2 separate regions of the Homo sapiens genome follow, and region 2 is linked to region 1. The links are contacts of gene promoters, found by promoter capture Hi-C in blood cells and fetal thymus (Javierre and others, 2016). All regions are on one chromosome and are shown on one strand. Each heading gives the region's core, a stretch centred on a gene start or on the middle of the fragment in contact. The rest is flanking DNA. Distances are from core to core; before and after follow the strand shown. Region 1 holds the start of CCN1 (cellular communication network factor 1). Region 2 overlaps TTLL7 (tubulin tyrosine ligase like 7).

Region 1 (7,679 bases), core at 2,092-4,591:
TCATTAAAGGGTTTCTCTACTCTACTAAAGTGGCATGCCCACTAACCTGGTGATTAAAATAATAAATTATTATAGCCATCTCACAGAGTGATGGAGACCCTTAGGCTTTATATTCTGATGAACATGAAGCGCTGTTTTCTTAAATCACAAATTTAGCTTCAGAATCTTTATTGTGCTTCATACAATGTCGTGTTCAATACATGTTTTTTAAACATTACTTTATATGCAAAGACTTTTCTCTACTGAAGGTATAAAAGCAATCATTATCTTATTTTAATAGCTTAATTCACTGCTGTATCCCAATAAGTCCTGTTTGAATAATTGAGTACGTGAGCTAGGTTGTTCCTAATGACTTTGGAGCACCTCTAAAAATACCGAATGGCATACACTCAGATATTAGGTAAATATTTCTTTATTAAATGGTTAATTCCATAAATAAAATCTTTTCACTGAATATAAAATTAAAATCATTTACAAATTATTCCAGTATTACATTTCCCCTCCCTCCCCAAAAGCTACATTTTGATAAATAAAACATTCAGTCTTAAAACACCTGATTTCTGTTTGCAGTTTAGAGTGCAGATAGCTGCCTCTCACAGACACTCATGGAGTGTCCCCCTTCAGGAAGGGATGGAATGCCCTCCCATTTACTTTTGTCAAAGGACGAATAAAAGCTTTAAACTGTCCAACTAATCTTATTATCTCTTTTACGACTGTAGAACCCCAAAAGGAAAAAAGCCTAGAGAAAATATGCTTAGCAAATAATTTACAAACAGAAAACAGAAAGTCATCAACTCCACAAGCTCCAAAATGAAGCAGTAACATGTGCTCCAATACTATGAAGCAAAGTATTCTCCAATCGTGGCTGCATTAGTGTCCATCCGCACCAGCACCCTTGGCAGTTTCGAAATACCTTAATGCTCCTCAAGAATGAGCAAGGCTTCCTTTCTACAATGAGTCCCATCACCCACACCACCCCCGCCCATTTTCTCCATGATTCTGATTCTGACACTCTTCTCCCTTGTTTGTCTAGGTGTGCCCTGGAAACCCAGGTAGCATTTAGTCCCTAAATTTGTGAATGTCATTGAACAGCCTGTAGAAGGGAAACGCTGCTTCATTGGCATGCGGGCAGTTGTAGTTGCATTTGCAGGACTGGATCATCATGACGTTCTTGGAAAATGTCTCCCCATCTTCGCAGCGGAACCGCATCTTCACAGTCCTGGTCAGCTGGGGCGTGCAGCATCGGCCGTCCACGCAGGAACCGCAGTACTTGGGCCGGTATTTCTTCACACTCAAACATCCAGCGTAAGTAAACCTGACTGGTTCGGGGGATTTCTTGGTCTTGCTGCATTTCTTGCCCTTCTGTAAGAGAAAGGAGAGAAGGAAAGTTAGGGGTGATATTTCTCTTTCTTCAAAAAGATGTTCACATCCCACCCACCTGCCAGGCAACAGTCTACACGTCCCTGAAGGAACTTACTTTCAGGCTGCTGTACACTGGCTGTCCACAAGGCCGCACCTCACAAATCCGGGTTTCTTTCACAAGGCGGCACTCAGGGTTGTCATTGGTAACTCGTGTGGAGATACCAGTTCCACAGGTCTTTGAGCACTGGGACCATGAAGTTGTTTGAACAATACATTTCTGGCCTTGTAAAGGGTTGTATAGGATGCGAGGCTCCATTCCAAAAACTAGAGACATATAAGAGGGAAGACTTCTCAGAGGCATACCGACACAAACAGGCTCAAGCACTCATTTCTACAAAGATTTAGACCAGAAATGCATCTCAGTACAGTGTCTGAAGTGCTCAGTCTCCACTTACCAGGGAGCCGCTTCAGTGAGCTGCCTTTTCCAACTGCAATCAATTCATTGTTTCTCGTCAACTCCACCTCGGAGGCATCGAATCCCAGCTCCTTGCCAAGGAGGCCGTCCTGGTCCTCCATGGGGTCCTTGATACTATCCTCGTCACAGACCCACTCCTCGCAGCACTGCCCGGTAACTTTGACCAGCCGAGGGTTGGGACAGCCCAAGTTGGGGAGAGATAGTTCTTGGGGACACAGAGGAATGCAGCCCACGGCGCCATCAATACATGTGCACTGATGTTTACAGTTGGGCTGGAAACTTTCCCCGTTTTGGTAGATTCTGGAGTTATATTCACAGGGTCTGCCCTCTGACTGAGCTGCAAAGATCACCAAAAGAGAAAGGTAGAAGGGGATAAAGTTAAGATTCCAAACCACCGCCTGAAACTCATACATATTTTCTGCTGTTAAATTCAATTTATGGTAAAGTTCCCTACAATTCCCCGGAGACTCCAGACCAGAACAATAAGTTAGTCAGGAATCACTTTTCCGTATGCGCTTTCGTTGGGCCCAGACACACTGAATTGCATTCCAGACTGCTGAAATCATGTGCCTTTCTGCCAAGCTACCAACAACAAAGCATCACCATACATGGTCTCAGAATTACTAAACTTCTGGACTATGGGGACTAGTATTTTTTTTAAAGGGGCCAAACCACAAGCATCTTACCTCTGCAGATCCCCTTCAGAGCGGTGGAGCTGGCGCCGAAGTTGCATTCCAGCCCCTTGGTGTGGTCGCAGGGCTGCGTTTTGCTGCAGTCCTCGTTGAGCTGCTTGGCGCAGACCTTACAGCAGCCGCAGCCGTCCCGGACCAGCCCGACTCCCGGCGCGCACTTGGGCGCCTCCAGGGGGCAGTGGCAGGCAGCGGGGCAGGTGGAGAGCGCCTGGAAGGGGGAGAAGATACGCGTGAGACTCGGCGCGGTGCGCAGGAGGGGCGCCGCGGCTGCCGCAGTGAGGGACGGGGGTCTCCGACCCTATCGACGGGGAGCCTCTGATCTCGTCCAGCCCGGCCACCTCGGAAGGCTGCTCCCACCAAGAGGTCCCGACACGTCTTCGGGGGGAGGGGGAGAGTGCTTAAAGAAACGGCTACCCGCAAACGATCGCGAACTTTTTAACTTTTCCTGCCGTGGGCAATCTGGGACCAGGGGAAGGGGCTGGAGAGCGGACGGGGAATAGGTGGCAAAAGGAGAGTCCAACTCACCAGCCTGGTCAAGTGGAGAAGGGTGACGACTAAGGCGAGCGCCCTGGCGATGCGGGAGCTCATTGTGGCGCGCAGGAGTAGCCCGGGGCGAGCGCGGCGACGAAGACGCCAACAAGCTGGTGTGCAGCGGACAGGCCGTGCGCAGCGGGGTCGGGGTGGCGGCGCGGTGGGCCCGGTGGGCAGGGAGGCGAGGGCTGGGCGGCGGGCGGGCGTCTTTCGCTCGAGGTCCCGGCGGAGAAGGCGCGGAGGGCGCGGGCGCTGCTCGGGGGCGCTCTCGCTCGCGGTCTGCCCAGGCGCCCCGGAGCCCGCCTTTTATACGGGCCGGCGGAGGCGCCGCGTGTTGCAGTGACGTCGGCTCTGTCTGCGCGTTCCAGAATTCTCAAACATCTCAGGAATGCTGGTTGGCGCGGGCTGCTGCCAAGCGCCTCCCCTGGCTCCATTGCACCTTTGTGTGTGTGTGTGTGTGTGTGTGTGTGTGTGTGTGTGTGTGTGTGTGTGTGTGTCTGTGTGTGTGTCTGTCTCCCAGACCCGTCAAGAAAACAGTTCGGGGGGTGTGTGTGTGTGTGTGTGTGTGTGTGTGTGTGTCCCAGACCCGTCAAGAAAACAGTTCGTTTTTTCCACCTTAAATTACGACTTATGTTGGGAAGGGTTCTTTGGGGCGTGATGGTGGTGATGGTAGTTGGAGGGTCGTGAGGGGCGAGGGGGGCCAGTTCAGAACTTTGCCTGGACTGGGTGGGTGGGAGGACCTGAGAGGGAGGAACAAAAGTCGTTTTGTTTGGTGATGCGAGTTGACCGGGCAGCCACTGAAGCCCTCACCCGGGAAGGCAGTGAGCTGTTTGCTTTTTTACAGCGAAGGTGAGAGGCAAGTTATCTGTTGAAAGAGTAGAACGGGGAAGAGGAGTGTGTCTCTGAGTCAGGAATATTTGTGGACTTCAAAGAGGCGTGTTCGGAACAAGTCCCAAAGCTTTGGCATGATGTTTATTAGCAAAGTTCAGTGAATTGCAAATTAATACCCACAGTGGCATTTATGAATGAAAAGGCGGGGGGGGGGTGGGGCGGGGGGAAACTTGCCCATCGTCTGGCAAATTCCCAGGCAGAGGTCTCCCCCACTCCTCCAGCCCTTCCCTCTTTTGGGTATGTTGTACTTGTTTGTTTTTGGAGGTTCCCACTTTAGTTCCAGCCCACTGCCTGGGTTGGAAGTCCGAGAGGAAACGAACGCGGGGAGTTCTCCGGGAGGCTGACTTATACTTCCTCACGGATGCAGGAGACGGGGTAAGCCCTTCCCGCCTCCCTCCGCGGGCAGGAGGCTATGCTAACCAAGCAGCCAGCCAGAAGTGCAGGAGACCACCGTGGAGTGGCCTGAAATCATCACCTGCAAAGACCGCAAGGCCAAACCAGATTCCAGGACCATTGTGCCCTATGAATCTCTGGGAAAAGCAGACTCCTTCAAGCTGGACATTTTGTGGGGTTTTTAACTCCTTTCCTAGGGACCACTGGAAGCCTCCCATTTTAAATGAATTGCAATGCCCTTCTCTCCAAGTACAGAAAAGAGATTTAGGATGTAATATTTTGCAGTAAAAATGTCAGCAGATTTTAAGATCCCGTTCTACTTGCAACACACTCAGTAGAAGACCCCACCACAAGACAATTTACTTGAACATCACCAATACCATTAGTGTGATTGATAAACTTTCCCTGCAAGTTTCAAAAACTTTTTGCATAATTTTAATAAAAATTATCATGTAAGACTCATATGCTCTAGGATAACTACTTATCCTTTTTAATGTTTAAGGCTATTCAGACTTCATAATTTAGCAGTCTTGCTTGAAAAGGCCCTTAGTGCTAATGCTGACTTTCCTGATAAGCACAATGAGAATCTGTCAGGATGAAAACACACTCCAGTGAAGAGAATTCTTGCAGGAAGGAGTTCAGTTTCATTCATTCCAAAGTGCCCTTTCATAAATGGAAGCAGCATTTGCTAGAGGGAGTGGGATCTCTAAAGCTCTGTTAGAGGGTTAGGGGTGGGAGACTTTTCAAGACAATGGATTGTCAGGTGTTATGCAAATACAGTGAGGAAAGTGTGGGCCCAACACGTACACAGGTTAATACATCAATTATTATTTACAAAACACTGTTTTTCCTGCCTTATCATTTCATTATTGTTTCCTTCTTAATGAAGTGACGGGGGGCGGGAGGGGGGAGGAGGGGTGCAGGGACAGTACTGGTTGAACTAGAGAGAGAATGGAGAGGAGGGTTCCTGGCTTCTGTTGTGGCGTCTTTTCTATTTGACTTCATGGTTGTAAGTATTTCCAGATGGTGAATCAGACACCAGACGTAACAATATTTCCATATTTGGGTATAGCAGTAGCCTGCGTTTTTAACATTTTTCTGCCTCTGTTATCCAACCACAAAGCATTCTTGACAGCTTCAAATGTTGTTAAATATAGATTTAACTTCTCTTCCCAGAGCAGGAAATTCTTTGGAATTCCTTGTTTTTCACGCAATCTGTCCATCATGATTTAAAATAAAAGCACAGTGGATCATCCAACTGGCCGTATATACCTTAATTGGAGGTTGGGGATGGGGGACGGCAGAGATCCAGTCTGCCGCACTGCGTTCAAACACACGCCATTCCAGAGATTCCTTTAAAATCACATTAAAGTTTTTTTAACAAGGGTGTGTGGGTTTGTTTCTGGACTTCAACTGGGGAATCTTGAGGATGAGTTTGCCCCAGAAGAGAAATTTAGAGAACCTTACCGTCAGCTGCCCATTTAAAGCAGGGGGTGTGTTGTGGGATGGGGGTGGGAAGCTGGAGCAACAGGGCCAGGAGGTGTGGGAGCGGGAGACACTAGAGTAACCTATGTGCACAGCCTCTCCATATACCATGTGCTGTTGCGCCTGCTAGTAATCGACGACATTAGGCAAGAGAAACAGCGGCTCCTCAAGTCCTGCCCAAAGACCGTCCAGAAACCCCAGCCTCCCGTCGCCTTCTCGCCGCCTCCGCTGGGAGCCGCAGATCAGTCCAAGTTGACGGACAGGAGGCGAAATGTGCAAATGTTTATGGGTAAGTGTTGCTTCGGGTGCTAATTCTGTATGGCTCTTTTGCTAGTTTCTCCTTCACCCTCCCCATACGGGTGCCCCAGGAGGAAATAACGGACTGCCTTGTTTCCTTGGGCTGCCTTGGATTGCAATCCACGGAGAAGGGGCTACTTGTCTTCTGCAGCTCCTGGCTTCGGGCTGAGAGATGGGGACGTCTCTCAACCGCTGCTGCCAGGGAATTTTAGGTTACCTAATGAAGGGCTCACTGTCTGGCGGCAACCGAGAATAATAACGGTAAATCTGGCGACTCCAGTTTCCTAGCCCTAGGAAGGCTCTCAGACTAGCGTGCATCCGAGTCGCCTGGAGGGCTAGTTAATGAATGGTTCTCTGGGTTCCCACCCCAGAGTTTCTGATTAGTTACATTTCTAACAAGTCCCCAGGTGATGTTGATGCTGCTGGTCCGGAGATCACACCCTGAGCACCACTGCCCTGGACGACCGGAGTGCCTGTAGTAGGGGTGTGTGTGTGTGTCTTCATAGATCCTCGGCTGCACACCCAACCTCACAACTCCACTCTTCAAAGCCACCTTAATGAACAGAACTTAATGGTGTCTGCAAAAGACCGGCTTTAAGGTGGCGCCCCCGTACCATCCCATTTCTCTCCTCTACCATTTCCCCGCCCCCATCCCCTTGGCTTGACAGCCAGGAGAGCCCCAGGAAGCCAGGATCCTGGTGGCTGCGGCAGGAACTGGGTGGCCGACGCGCGGAGAGGGCGGTCGGCTCCGGGACCCCTGCGGAGGGAGCGGAGAGGGTCCGCACCGCGAGAGGGTGCGGGACGCGAGGCATCCGGACGCGCCTGCCCGGCTGCTACCGCCGCCCCCTGCCGGCCACCCCGCCCGCGCGCCCACAGTCACCGCGGTTGCCAAGAATCGAGGTTTCCGGCGGCGCGCGGCGCAGGACGTTTCCAGCCCCGGCCCATATTTGGTGAAAGTCTTTCAAGACTCCGTCATCTAGCTTCGGGGGGCGGTGGCGGTGGCGGTGGCGGCGGCGGCGGCTGTCCTGCGACCCGGCCTGGCAGGCTTGCGGCCGCCGCGTTCCTGAAAAGTGCGCCGCGGCGGCCCGCGCCCAGGCCTCCCTCCGCGCGGGACCCCGGAGCGTTGCGGGCGGCGGGGTAGACCCGGGCAGTTTGGCCCCAGTCCTCACCCCTCTGAGGGCCGAAGTCCGCCCTGCGCTGCGTGGGAGGCTGGCGCGGAGGGCGCCGCGGCCCAGTTGTGTCACTTTTCCCGTCCGCCCCCCTGTTGACTAGTCCTCCCAGCGGGGCAGCGAGTTGCCGTGCTGTGCCAGACGTAGAGGGTGCGTCCGGCGCAAGGGTGTGGGGCTGTGTGTGTATGTGTGTGTGTGGGCGGGGGGATGTTCGGAGGATGGCGTTTGCGTGGACACCAAGCGCACCCGAGAGCGGGACGTGTAGCCAGCTCTGGGGAAAAGCCCCGAAGGGCCTGGATTCCATTATCCCCAGAAGGGACACATGGTAAAGCTGGCTCTCGGTTTCTCCTGGCCTCCCACGACCCCTTCCCCTCTTCCTCCTCG
Region 2 (7,679 bases), core at 3,723-6,222, 1.6 Mb after region 1:
TATTATGTTGTAGGAGAAATATGCCCAAAGAGGCTTTTGATTCTACTTAAGTGCTTGATGAATATGTTATGAAATAACCTTGTCTTCTGTCACCTTAGTAACCGAGTTATAGCTGTTATTTGCTTTGAACTTTATTTAATTCACCACTTATTGAGTAAGATTTTCTCCTTTTTCATTATCCTCGGTACTGGAAATACAAATATTAATAAGAGAAAATGCCTTGAAGGTATGCTGTGTTATCATTACCCGTTTATCAGTTCCTGCTTTTTCATGTCATAATAGGCTAAATTCCAAAGACTAGACAGGCCACAGAGTTTTGTAGACATTTGTGTGGTTGCTCTAATTACACATACTATACATTTGCCTTTTTCCATATGGCTTTTCCCAACTTTGCATAATTCTTGGACCATGGCTTAATTTTTATGGGATTAAATTTAATTTAGAGGGATTTGAAAATTGTGACAAATTTGTTTGATTCTAGAAATTAGCACAGTTGAAATTTTTTTATTTTAAATTCAAAAAAACCTTCCAGAGAACTATATTTCCCTGATATGGTAGCTCAGCAGTTTAACTCCTATGTTCCAGGCTCTGGGAATAGGCTACAGCCAATTGGAACAATAAATAAGTATTAAGTGCATTAGTGGGAGTTACTGTTGCTCAAGGTCAAGATTGTTACTAGAATGAATAAATAGTTCTTGTGTTTATTCTTACATAATATCATACTTGGCTGTTATCAGGTTTTTAGAAGTAGTTGATCAAATGGTTCTTTCAGGTCTAGAACACAGGACAGATCCAGCTTTGGGTAATGGGCCCAGCCAGGGAAAGGGAGACAAAAGTTACTATGTTCAAGGAGTAAGTAGCTTCTCTAAATACCCTTTCAATTTGTACACACAATGAGTGGTGGCAATGTTTTATTGTTATGAGAGTTGTTTGGGTGATGTCATTTGTATACCAGTCATGCAGCTGTGCATTTTGAAACCTATTGTCCTTTCTTGGCAGAAAGGACAGAAATAGGAGCAGTTATGCTTTGGAAGGGACCTTTGTGTTTAATTAACACCATTTTACCTATAAAAGTAGAGGATTCCCTTATCTCTTATCTCCACTAATTCTATTGTCTTATTTTCTGTTTATTTTCATCCACCCTTATTGCAAATACAAAGCTGAAATAATCTCACCCCTCAAACTGGCTCTTCTGTCTGCAAGCCTTCTCTTGATGAATTGTGCCATCTTCTACCCAATTCTTTAAGCTAGAAATCTGCAAAATCATCCAGGATTACATTTTCCTTATCAGTCACCAAGTCCTGCTGCTATTCTGCTAATACTGCAATAGCAGAATTCTGTCTCCTTATGTCTGTTGCTTTTATCTGTAATCAAGCTCTTATCTTCTCTCTCTTGGACTTTTGTAATATCCTCTTAAGATTGTCTCCACTACTGCCCCCACAATAACTGCCAGTGTAATCTATCAAAAATAAATCTGGATTATATTACTCCTCTTAGAGTCCTTCAGTGACTTCACATTGCTTATGAGTCAGGATCAGACCTAAGTTTCAGCAGTATGATTTATATCACAATACTTACAAAAAGACACATAATGATTCAAGCAAAAGTATTGTGGTTATTTCATTTCTACCTCTTATTTCAAATGCCTAAACCATGATAATTGCGTATTTATTCTTTATATTAAGAATTACATTCTTTGCATAAGAACACAGGTGCTCACTCTCTGTAGAACTGCCTATTGCATCATCCTTCCTCTCAAGGGGTATCAGACTTGGTGTTTATCATTCCTATGTATTTCTTTATATGCTTATTTCATAATTTATAAGAAATATATTATTTTGTATAATTTTAAACTTTATGTAAATAATATACTGTATGTATTCATCAGCTGTTTTAAATCTTCATTTTGTGATGCAGCATGTATCACTGATGTATAGTATTTTCATTGTATGAGTGTATTGCAGTGTCTTCACTCCCTTGTTGGTGTTGATTTGCATTCCTCCTTTCCCTTCCCTCTACAATTTTTTTACTATCCATAGAGGTTGTATTATTAATCTTTGTGGTTGTTGTTAATCCTTATAAGTTTAATTATTTTTGGTGGATTTCTTTTCTACAAAATGAGTGTGTTGGTTAGTGAGCATCGGTAGCTGGTTTGGGGTCAAACAAGGGGGGTAAACTGTCTAGATTAGCAAACTTCATCCCACTTACCAGAGCTGTTGGCAGTAGCAAGTGAGATCTTTTGTAGCAAACTTCTTCTTTTCCAGATGCTTTCCAAAGCAGATTATGAAAAAAAAGTGAGAGTCCTGCTGGGCAAATGCTTTCTCCTCCAGTCATTACTTGGCCAGGTGATTTCTAAGTCACCCACATTGCTGTGCTTCAAAAGACCAATAGGAGGGAATAGACTCCAGCAGTGGTGTTCTCCCACTTTCCTGGATCTGCCCTGGCCACCAGCTGTTGGCCTTCTAGTGCAGTGGTTCTCAGAGCTTTAGCCTGCATCAGATTCACTTGGAGGACTTGTTAATTGATGGGCCTCACCTCTATATTTCTGATTCAGAAGTTCTGGGGTTGGGCCTGAGAATATGCATTTCTAAGAAGTTTGCAGATGATACTGATGCTCAAGTTCAGCATTTCCAAACCTATTTTATTTTTTGACTCATGGAACTCTTTAGACATTAATATATAATTTCACAATCACCTACATGAATTTTTCAATCATGTTATAATTTCCTAAGTTTTACATGTTTTAAAGAAGGGCTTTAAGTTCAAAAATTTGTATCTGCATAATGATAAACATTGTGGTCATCCAGAGCCTTGCTACTCAAAGTGTGGTCTGTGAACCAGCATACCTAGGAGCTTGTCAGAAATGCAGACTCTCAGGCTCTACCTCAGACCTAATGAGTCAGAATCTGAACTTGAACAGTAGTCCCAGGTGTGCACATTACAATTTAAGAAACACTAATGTAGAACTGACATTAAATCCAATCTGAATAATATTCAAAACAAATAAGCATTTTAAATTTTGATGTTTAAAAGTGGCATGTTTCATTTACTTTTATTCTCTTTCATATGAGAAAAAGCATGATTTCATATAAGAGAAAGCATATATCAAATTTGGTTTGGGAACCAAGTGCTGAAATTTAATGAAATTAATAATACAAAAATGGACAAAATTTCATTCATGACCTGATATTTGGAAATACTACTTTTTGCATATACAACTGCCTTATTTTTATAATTTTTAGGAAGTAATAGATTTCTGACTGTTAATTGTAATGACCTCTCTGCAAATAATGTTAATGTGTGTGGAGAGTGTTTTTGCCTCAAAGTAAAAGCTTACTTGGATATATTTTTTGTTACATTTGTTATTTTTCTCTTTTTTTTGGAAGTGATAGTAGAAATGTCTTTCATCCGATAATTACAATTTAGGGATCTGGAGAAGATTATCTTGAGACATATTTGCAAAATTGTTACTTTAAAATTTTCTTATAACTTGTTTTTCAATATCATTGTTCATTATATCTCTTTTCTTTAAACGATTATCAATGAGGATAATAATCTATCTTTTAGGGTTTTGAAGGTCAGAGTTTTATATGTATAAACCTCAAAAAGTGCCTGGCACATAGGATGTTTTACATAAGTGATGATATCAACCCCATCCTTCTCTTCCTCTTTGTTGTCTTCTTGCTCTTCCTCATTATCATTGTTACAATCCATAGCAAGCTCAGGATAGAGTTTAATTATCTACTCTGTGAAGCCAGGGGCAGACTGGACTCAATGTCTTAGTCTGCTCAGGCTGCTATAATAAAGTATAATAGACTAGGTAGCTTAAACAATAGATATTTATTTCTCACAGTTCTGGAGGCTGGGAAGTCTAAGATAAAAAAGGCTCAAGACAATTAGGTTCCTGGTGAGGGCTATCTTCCTGGCTTTCAGAGGACTGCCTTCTCACTATGTCCTTGGGCTCCAGCTTTTAACGTAGATTCAGTCGAACAAAATCAAGCATCTTTGCGAAATCTTCAATATGTTATATTTAAAGGCTGAATTTTGAAGGTAGCACAAAAAGTGGGAAGGAATATGGGTTTCCTTCCCATACTTCTTCTAATAGGTAGAAGCCACAAACCACTTCAACCTATTAGATGTGTGACTTTGTGCAAGTTTCTTAACCTTGGAGCCTACATTTTCCCATATATAAAATGGGAATAAAAGGTACTGGGTATTTGTTGGGTGGACTAAATAAAGTTATGTGAAAGTAGATACTGGTTTGTACTGGTTCTTTTCTCCTTCCTCTTGTCACAACAAAACAGCTCTTATTATGTTTTTATTTAATATTATTTTACATATTTTTAACTTAACCCTATTTTTGGATCCTCTTGACTTTTTGTTTGATTATTTTAGTAATCTTTGGGTGAGCTAAAAATTAATGTACAAAGACCTCATATATTATGTTTACTGGGGTATGGATTGAGGGTTGCTGGAGAAGGTCTGAGTTTTCTTTGTGTTTCCTTCTTTTACATAAAAGAAGTTTGTCTTCATCTTTTGCCATAAAATATATCAGCAATGTTATCTTCATTGGTTGCCATTTTAGACTTTAGGGGTGGAAAGAATAAATCTTTTACTTTTGCAGCCTAAGAATTTATATCTGCTAAGTGGAAAATTAAAGGATAGGAATTTGATTTGACTCCTTGTTCAGTGCTCTTTCTACCATATTATACTTTCATTTAAATGAAATAAAGGTATTTTCACTTAAATGGAGAACACAGTTTGATGATTTTGGTTATCAACATGATTATATTGATACAAAATTTTATCACATATATTTTACTTTTTTGAACAGGTAATACATATACAGAGTACTAAAGGTAAGTACAAGTAAGTCTCCCTTAGCCCCACCCCTAGCCATAGCAGGCCACAACTGCTCAGTGGATATGTTCCATATATTCCTCTGTTGGTTTGCTCAAGTGGCAGTGTAATATGTAAACTTCTATGTACTTTGCTTTTTCCACTTAAAAATGTGGGTTAGGGCTGGGCACAGTGGCTCACGCCTGCAATCGCAGCACTTTGGGAGGCCGAGGTAGGCGGATCACCTGAGGTCGGGAGTTCGAGACCAGCCTGACCAACATGGAGAAACCTCGTCTCTACTAAAAATACAAAACAATTAGCCAGGTGTGGTGGCGCATGCCTGTAATCCCAGCTACTTGGGAGGCTGAGGCAGGCGAATCACTTGAACCCGGGAGGCGGAGGTTGCAGTGAGCCAAGATTGTGCCATTGCACTCCAGCCTGGGCAGTAAGAGCAAAACTTCGTGTCAAAAAAAAAAAAAAAAAGTGGGCTAGGTGCAGTAGCTCATGCCTGTAATCTCAGCACTTTGGAAGGCTGAGGCGAAAGGATAACTTGAGGCTAGGAGTTTGAGACCAGCCTGGTCAACATAGTGAGACCCCATCTCTAAAATAATAAATAAATAAATACATAAATAAATAAATAAAAATAATAATAAAAGCCTGTTGTGGTGGTGTACACCTGTAGTCCCAGCTACTTGGGAGGTTGAAGCAGGAGGATTGTGGAGCCCAAGAGTTCAAGATTACGGTGAGCTATGATTGTCTCTAAAAAACAATATAAATGAATAAAACAAAATACATAAATAAAATTTTTTTAAAGTGAAAAGTAATATATTGTAAATTACATGTATTTGCTTCTCAGAGCTTGATGACTATTTCTCTTTTCTCTCAGCTCTCATGAATTGATTGGTTGTTTGTTTTTTAAGACACGCTCTGCTGCCAGGCTGTAGTGCAGTGGCATGAACACAGCTCACTGCAGCCTTGACCTCCCTAGCTCAAGCTATCATTCCTTCTTAGCCACCCAGGTATCTGGGACTACAGGCAGGCACCACCATGCCTGGCTAATTTTTAAATTTTTGTGGAGATGTTGCTCAGGCTGGTCTCAAACTCCTGGTCTCAAGTGATCCTCCTGCCTAGGCCTCCCAAAGTATTGGGATTATTTATAGGCATGAGCCATGGTGCCTGGCTAATTAACCGATTTATTAACTCAGTGTCTTAGCCCGTGTGTGCTGCTATAACAAAACGCCACAAATTGGATAACTTATAAACAATAGAAATTTATTTCTCAAATTTCTGAAGGCTGGGAAGTCCACATCAAGGTGGTGGCAGGTTTATTGACGGTGAGGGCTGCTGTTTCTGCTTTTAAGATGGTACTTTGTTGCTGCACCTTCTGAAGGAGATGGATGCTGTGTTCTCATGGTGGAAGGGATGGAAAGGTTGTGTGAAGCCTTGATTATAAAGTCCTTCCCATTCATGAGGAAGGAGCCCTCAGGACCCAATCACCTTCTAAAGGTCCTACCTCATCATACTGTTTCATTGGGGACTATGTTTCAACATGAATTTTGGAGGGACACAAATATTCAAACCATAGCACACATTAACAAGTGCTTATTGAACACTATGGTCAGGCACTATTCTAGGACCTGGGAATGGAGGAGTGAACAAGATAGAAGAAAACCATCTTTTTGGCAGGTGATTATGATAAGGGTAAAAATAAGGCCTGTGATAGCCCAAAAGAGGGAGAAATGAATTTCTTCAGATATAATCAGAGAAAGCTTTCAGGAAAAAGTGGTATTTTATGTGGAATTTAAGTGTGGTAGAAGCTCAACGGAAGAATAGGGAAGAAATGGTACTCTAGCACAAATGTACTGGAATTATTTTGGTTTTGTTTCAATTTCGTGTATCTATTGGTGCTTGACAGTTCTATGTTCAAGGTTAACATTTGCTTGAAATTTTGGAAAATTGATTCCTTTTGTAAATAAATTCTGTTTCTTTATCTTAAAAATCATTTTGTGCTCACCGTCAAATTTTTTTCTGGTTTTTTTTTTTTTTGAACTAGATAGGAAAACAGGATTTTTGTGGGTAATTTTTACCTATTTGGTCTTTTTAAAAAAGTTATGAGTTTTCTTTTACTTTTTTTCTTATAATTTCATGTGTTGTTATAATTAGCTATTATTTGTTGCATTGTCATCGTGTGCTTACAGTAGAGGTTCTCAACCTTAGCTGCACTGGAATCACATGAAGAGCTTTAGAAATGCTGATGGTTGGGCCCCACTTAGTTCTGGGGTGTGGCCTGGACAGCAGGATTTTCAAAAGCTCCTCATTCAGGCAATTCTGCTTTGCAGCCAAGGTTGAGAAGCCATTGGCTTAAAGCATTTCAGAGGTAACTGAAACATGTTTTCTGCTTTTGGAAAGTAGGTAACTATGGTTTCAAATGAGTGGTGGGATAAATCCGTCATCTCAAATCTCTTGCTTAGAATAAAGCTGATTAGAATTGCCATGGTTGAATGAAGTCCTTGAGTTTGTTAAAGCACTTTGACTAAGGCATAAATGGAATTAAGTAAAGCGCATATATGCATAGTATAATTTTAAGAACTTTAAATTCCTGTATGCCTTGGGGAAGGGATAAAAGTTCTTGTTTTGAACTCTGTACAAATCAGCCATTTGACTTATTATTTAAGTCAAAAACTAACAAATTTGTTTTTAGAATCTAGTATAGTTAGGTGAAGCTTGTTTTTAAAGTCTTGTTGACTTTGTCACCTACTTTCAATGTAATAAGTATTCTGTTACTGTAAAGGGGATCTTTGTTTACTCCAGTAACAAGATGTTGGACAAAAAACTTGTAA

The links. The method cuts DNA at HindIII sites, captures the fragments that hold promoters and counts their contacts. A CHiCAGO score of 5 or more calls a contact.
Region 2: a contact is called between a fragment that was not itself captured here and the fragment with the promoter of CCN1 in region 1, in 1 of 17 cell types (activated CD4 T cells). The highest score is 6.5, in activated CD4 T cells.

What each region holds. Positions count from the first base shown.
Region 1 is chr1:85,576,423-85,584,101 of GRCh38, reverse strand. CCN1 (cellular communication network factor 1) reads right to left here and starts at 3,341. Exons shown (of 5, transcript NM_001554.5): 1 at 3,055-3,341; 2 at 2,524-2,737; 3 at 1,818-2,174; 4 at 1,478-1,686; 5 at 152-1,362. The coding sequence starts at 3,117. The coding sequence ends at 1,060. LOC124904208 (a long non-coding RNA gene) reads left to right here and starts at 7,056. Exons shown (of 2, transcript XR_007066201.1): 1 at 7,056-7,076. It also overlaps a transcript of DDAH1 not described here. RefSeq lists enhancers at 1,683-2,204, 3,471-3,520, 3,251-3,773, 6,173-6,232 and silencers at 2,621-2,670, 2,681-2,730, 2,741-2,800, 3,231-3,360, 6,713-6,992 and 1 more. The HindIII fragment of the contact is 3,344 bases long and covers 677-4,020 here.
Region 2 is chr1:83,954,071-83,961,749 of GRCh38, reverse strand. All of the region lies in intron 1 of TTLL7 (tubulin tyrosine ligase like 7), which reads left to right. Among named protein-coding and RNA genes, the nearest start is that of TTLL7-IT1, 26 kb to the left of the region's middle. The HindIII fragment of the contact is 3,276 bases long and covers 3,335-6,610 here.